Linked DNA regions of Homo sapiens: region 2 is linked to region 1. The links are contacts of gene promoters, found by promoter capture Hi-C in human tissues and cell types (Jung and others, 2019). All regions are on one chromosome and are shown on one strand. The core of a region is centred on a gene start or on the middle of the fragment in contact, and the rest is flanking DNA. Distances in the headings are between cores, read along the strand shown.

The links. Contacts are between HindIII fragments. The study calls those that stand out against the background at their distance.
Region 2: a fragment that was not itself captured here is called in contact with the fragment with the promoter of C18orf63 in region 1 in 1 of the 25 tissues and cell types used here (thymus).

Annotation. Positions count from the first base shown.
Region 1 is chr18:74,314,511-74,317,464 of GRCh38, reverse strand. C18orf63 (chromosome 18 open reading frame 63) reads right to left here and starts at 1,626. Exons shown (of 14, transcript NM_001174123.2): 1 at 1,356-1,626. RefSeq lists an enhancer at 1,249-1,418. The HindIII fragment of the contact is 6,586 bases long and covers 1-2,954 here.
Region 2 is chr18:74,261,218-74,264,262 of GRCh38, reverse strand. CYB5A (cytochrome b5 type A) reads left to right here. Exons shown (of 5, transcript NM_148923.4): 2 at 786-914. Among named protein-coding and RNA genes, the nearest start is that of CYB5A, 29 kb to the left of the region's middle. The HindIII fragment of the contact is 4,034 bases long and covers 1-3,045 here.

The DNA.
Region 1 (2,954 bases), core at 377-2,876:
AAGTCTTTTGTTGTTTCAGATTTTTCTGTAAAGCACTTCAAGGTTGAGGAATATATTATTTTTCATTGTACACGACAGAAAATGTTTACTGGTCTCTAAATTGTTACCTAGTTTTTGTTTCCACTAAATTATCCAGCTTTCAAATTCTATTGGAGGCACAGTTTACAGTTGATAATTCATAAGGTATACCTTTGAAGTCTACATTACATTTTACTACAGTAACAAAAACTGGAATATAAAAGTAAAGCAACCCAGTGAAGCTTCAGTACACTAACATGCACAAATACATTAGGGAAAAGTAAGCTGGACTCTAGTACTTTCAACTTTTCAACATCAACATGCTTTTTCTTTTTAAGAAAGAATAATATACTGGCCCGGGAATGTGCAGTGTGACCAGCCTTCTGATCACAGTACTGAAATGAGTTTGTGGTGTCATCTGAGGAATGCTGGCAATGCCAGCAGGAATGTAATACAGTAGGAATGTAAATTCCAGGTCACCAAAAAATTCCTGGGTGCAAGTCCTCCCGTTTTGCCAATCTTCAAATACTCACGGATTGCAACACTGTATGTAAACAAGAGTGATCTGTTCAGGGATAAGCATGAATTTATTAGAATTATTACTATTGTTTAATTTTGTGAGTTCCTAGTTGGCAAAACTTGCAGATTCAAAAAGAATGTTGTTTTCTTTGGCTAGGCTGTAGAACTATATTGTGAAGCTCAAAACGTGGGCCAAGCCTTATTATGATCTACGGATGCGCTATTAACATCCTGTCCAGGGAGTCGCTCCACTACGTTTCTGTCCCAGGATTTCATCTTTATTCCCAATCCCCAGCAGGGCAAGGAACAAGTGCTAGGAGCAGGCAACAGGCACCTACGCAATTCTACACGTGAGGGAGGACTCAGAGAACCCCAAAGGACCAAAACTCTGGGAGCGCCCAGCTCCTGCAGTGCTGTGCGCTAAGCCTCGGGACCGCCGCTACGAGGGACCCTTCCTAAAAATCCTCCCGGGGCGCGGGGTTCAGGGCGGCCCCAGACCCGGCTTGCCGCTGCCCCCAGGCGAGCGCCCACCCCTCTTCCGGCCTGGCTTCTGTGAGAACAGTAATGGACGTGAGTGGAAACGAATCTAAGGTCTTTGTTCAGCTAAATCCATTTTAAAAGGTGATTCTATAAATTTCCGATATAATGAAATGCCCGAAAAATTGGGACTCATGGGTCTTTGCAGATGAATACATTTTTTTCCTGACCCAAACCAACGTCCTCAGGGTGCCGGCGCCGGCACCGGGATCCTGCCCTCATGGCGGCCCTGACCTGCTCCTCCGCAACCGTGGGGAAGAGAATCAGGAAAATGGTCTTACAAACTGGAAAAGCAACACTTCTAACGCCCACGGCCTCCTGCACTGCAGATGCGTCAGGCGTCTCCTCAGGGGGAGGAAAGGGCGGGTGGGCGGCAGGGCCTCCAGCAGTCTCCCTCGCTTCCGCTCTGCCTCCTTCAAGCAGCTGCCCCCCAAGGCCAGGCCTCTTGGTCTCTGTGGGGCGTCGATTGAGAGCCCGCGTGCCTCAGCTCCCTCCTCGCTGCCCTCAGGAGACGCTCCCGGCTCGCCCCGCGTGCCCTGCCTTCATCGGAGTGTCCCCTCGTGCCCTCCTCACAGCCCTCGGGAGCCAATCCCAGTATTTCCCGCGCTCTCCCAGCGTTCCCTGCGCTCTCCCAGCATGCCCTGCAAGCCTTGCGCTCCTGGCACGCAATGTAGGTCAACTTTTCCCGCCAAGGCAGGAACCGACCAAAGCTGGTCACGGATGACCCAGTGAAGCCCTGTGAGATTCTCTCAGCCTGAGCTGGTGTGGGTGGGGCCGGGACACAAGGTTCTGGCCGCCCTCGAAGGCGGGAAAGCTGGGTCAGCGCAACACGTCCAACGGGGAGCTCCGGCGCTGAAGCCCCGGCTAACTGCGTGCTGCACAGGGGCTACCCAGCCTCTTGCCTCGGCACGTTTCTCCTCAGATTCTCATGCCCGAATTTACAGCTTCTGCAGTTCCTTTAGTGGTGGGAATCTCCATGACTGGAACATCTTCATGCCTGGTGTGGAGGGGAAGCGTGGTGCAAGCTCGTGGGAGTAAATCCACGAAGCGCCTACTGTGTGCAGATGCGTTTCTAAGGTCTGCTGATAGAGCACTAAGCAAACAGCATTCCCGGTCCTTGTGGGATGCACATTTTACTTGGTAGTTGGGGGAAAACAGATACGCAAGATAAATGTGCAAAATCTTAGTGTGGCAGATGGTGATAGGTGCATTGGAGAAAAATTAAGTAGGGTAGGGAGGCGGGGAGTGCCGAGGAGAAGTCGTTAGGTTTAATAGCGTGGTCAGGAAGGCCTCGTGGAGAACGGGACGTTTGAGAAAGACATGAAGGCGGTGAGAGTGGGCAGCCTCGTGCATGTCTCGGGGGAGAATGTTTGTTACGAGAGAGGGAATCCTACAAAAGGCCAGGGCAGGAGGGACGCCAGCTGGCTGCAGTAGAGCAGGAAAGAAGTGGCTCCGTGAGGCAGGAGGAGTTACAGAGAGCCAGACAGGGTTAGGCCCGATAAGCCATGGAAGTATTAAAGGTGCATCCAGCCTGCTGTGCTGGAATGGACTGAAGGGGACAGGGAAAGGAAGAAAAGCAGTTAGGAGGCAATGGCAATAAGGAGAGAGGTGGCTTGGATCAGAGCAGTGGCAGTGGAGGGAATGGGATGGGATGGGATTGGATTCTGGATATATTTTGAAATTAGATTTAATAGGATTTGGATATGGATTGATGTGGGATCTGAGAGAGAGGGAGAGGAATCAAGCATCACTCCAAGGTTTTTATACTAAGAATTCAGAAGGATTGGGTTGCCATTAATTACAAAGGGGAAGACTAAGAGGAGCAAGTTTGGGGCTGAAGATCAGGAGGGTTCATGTCAGTTTTGGACTTGTTGACATTG
Region 2 (3,045 bases), core at 533-3,032, 53 kb after region 1:
ATGTTGTTAGTGAAAGGTTCTTTCTTTCTCGCTCTCTTTTTTTTTTTTTTTTGAGACAGAGTCTCACTTTGTTGCCTAGGCTGGAGTGCAGTGGCGCAATCTCAGCTCACTGCAACCTCGGCCTCCTGGATTCAAGCGATTCTCAAGACTCAGCCTCCTGAATAGCTGGGACTACAGGTGCCCGCCACCACGGCTGGCTAATTTTTGTATTTTTTGTAGAGATGGGGTTTCGCCATGTAGGCCAGGTTGGTCTCGAACTCCTGAACTCAAGTGATCTGCCTAGGATTACAGGCGTGAGCTACCGTGCCCGGCCGGGAAAGGTTGTTTTTAAATTTTTTTTTACTTTTATCTTTTTGAGGGTCTCCCTCTGTTACCCAGGCTGGAGTGCAGTGGTGCAGTCACTGCTCACTGAAGCCTCAGCCCCTTGAGCTTGTGCCATCCTCCCACCTCAGCCTCTCATGTATCTGGGACTGCAGGGGCATGCCACCGTGCCCAGCTAATTTTTTAAAATTGTATTTTATAGTTATGGGGTCTCACAATGTTGCCCAGGTTGGCTTTGAACTTGGGCCCAAGTGATTCTGCTGCCTAGGCCTATTGTACTTGCATGATGGAAATGGAATATAAAGGCCTGTGTTGTTTTAATCCACATTTATGGACAAGTTAGTCTCCTGTTGTCATCTGTGTCTTCTGAAGGAGTCACCTGTTTGGTTAAATAAATTCTGGCCGTTTTCTCTTAATTCATTTGCCTGAAAAAAAAATTTTTATTCTACCTCTCCTTTGAACAGCATCCTGGTGGGGAAGAAGTTTTAAGGGAACAAGCTGGAGGTGACGCTACTGAGAACTTTGAGGATGTCGGGCACTCTACAGATGCCAGGGAAATGTCCAAAACATTCATCATTGGGGAGCTCCATCCAGTAAGTACATTTTGGGGGCCCTTTCTTATTTGTATTTAAGGCTATCAGATGACCTTACCCTAGTCTGTAAGCTTGCATGTATACACATTTTAAAAGGAGTAAAGCAAAAACAACTCCTGATTTTAGGACACCATTTTTTGTTATAAATAAATTGACCAAAAATGTCTTTGCATTTCACTGTTGCTTTTTTTTTTTTTTTTTTGAGACAGGTCTTACTCTGTCACCCAGGCTGGAGTGCAGTGGCACGATCATGGCTCCCTGCAGCCTCAACCTCCTGGGCTCAAGCCATCCTCCTGCCTCAGCCTCTTGGTAGCTGGGACTACAGGCACACACCTCCACGCCTGATAAATTTCATAGTTTTTGTAGAGACGGGGTTTCACCGTGTTGCCCAGGCTGGTCTCAAACTCCTGGACTCAAGCGATCCACCCACCTCGGCCTCTCAAAGTGTTGGGATTACAGGCGTGAGCCCCCACACCTGGCCTGGTTGCATTGTTTACTGGCACTTCGTTTTAGTCAGCAGGCTCCACCCCACAGCCATGCACTGGGGAGTCTGCTCAGTCCTAGAAATTCCATGGGGCAGCACGTTTTACAAGGTGGGGAGAATCAACCCAGCATTGCTTTCTTTCCTTTTCTGACCAAAATATTTTTATTAAGAACCCCACTTCTACTTTCATTAGGCCAAGGATATTTTAGTTCTAAAAAATGATTTAAAAAATATAAAAACGGAGCTATGTGAAATGAATAAGCTCTGCCTTCTGTAGAACTAGCACATTGTCCATATTCTACTCACTGTACCCCAGACCTTCGAGAATATCAGCTCTGGACCAATTCATTGACCAACTTTTGGAAAACACTGGCCTAATTTGGCTTTTCTTTTCTTTTTTTTTTTTTTTGAGACAGAGTCTTGCTCTGTTGCCCAGGCTGGAGTGCAGTGGCGCGATCTCGGCCCACTGCAACCTCCACCTCCTGGGTTCAAGCAATTCTCCTGCCTTAGCCTCCCAAGTATCTGGGATTACAGGCACAGGCCACCATGCCTGGCCAATTGTTTTGTATTTTTAGTAGAGATGGGGTTTCGCCATGTTGGCCAGGTTGGCCTTGTACTCCTGACCTCAGGTAATCCACCTACCTAGGCCTCCCAGAGTGCTAGGATTACAGGTGTGAGTCACCGCACCTAGTCCTAATTTGGCTTTTCTATAAACACTGTGCTGTGTTACGGTTTTAGACCCCTCTGTGGCAGTTGTAAATGACCATGTTAAATGTTACTAGTCTGTCAACCTAAGTTATCAGGAAAATCGCTGAAAACTTGGAAAGAAGTTGCCGAGCGCTCTGAGCTTCTGGAGTGGATCCTGGGGCCGCACACTCAGCTGCCCTGTCCACCTCTGGGAGTGCCTGGCTCCGTCCTGCCTTCCCACTTGTGGTGCATGGTTAGCAGCCCGCCAGAAGGGGACAAAGACCTGCTAGGAGCCCGCTCTGCTCTCGTAAGAAAAAAATGGAGAGGCAAATAGCCTCATTCTAAGTGAGCAAACTGAGAAACTCTTAAAGAATATAGGAAAAGTCTTATCGTATACCACTGATGATCCCTGTAATGACTGTGAATGAAGAAGAGGTTACATTAGGTTCTTTGTAGAAGGCTCGAAAGTAGGAAATCCATTTGAGAACAACTTCATTGAGTTGGGAGGTTTGTTTGATTTTGTTTTTGGTGGTAGGAGATATGTACTTTGAGGGAGTAAGCTTCATTCATCTGACAAGTTTATTTGCCCCGATATTTTCATCCCATACTTCACAAAGGCAAAGTGTCTTAGGGTCATCAGGGAGGCCTGCCGTTACACATGCCTGATCCCATCCTTGTTTCCAGCTGTGGGTCAGGTTTCAGGCCCTGACTGTGGCACTTCTGCTTCACCTGCCCACTGGGCTTCCCCCTGGCCAGCCTTTAAACACACTGTATTTTTGACAGCTTCAGCCTGAAGTTGAAATAGTTTATGACTCTAAAACTGGGAGACTGCAGGGCTTAACTGAAGATATCATACACGTAAGAGATACATGCACAATCTCAAATGGAATTTGAGAGGACAGAAGGGAAGAATCAGTCTTCAGCTCCTCCCTGAATTACGTGTCGCAATCTGAGTCTAAT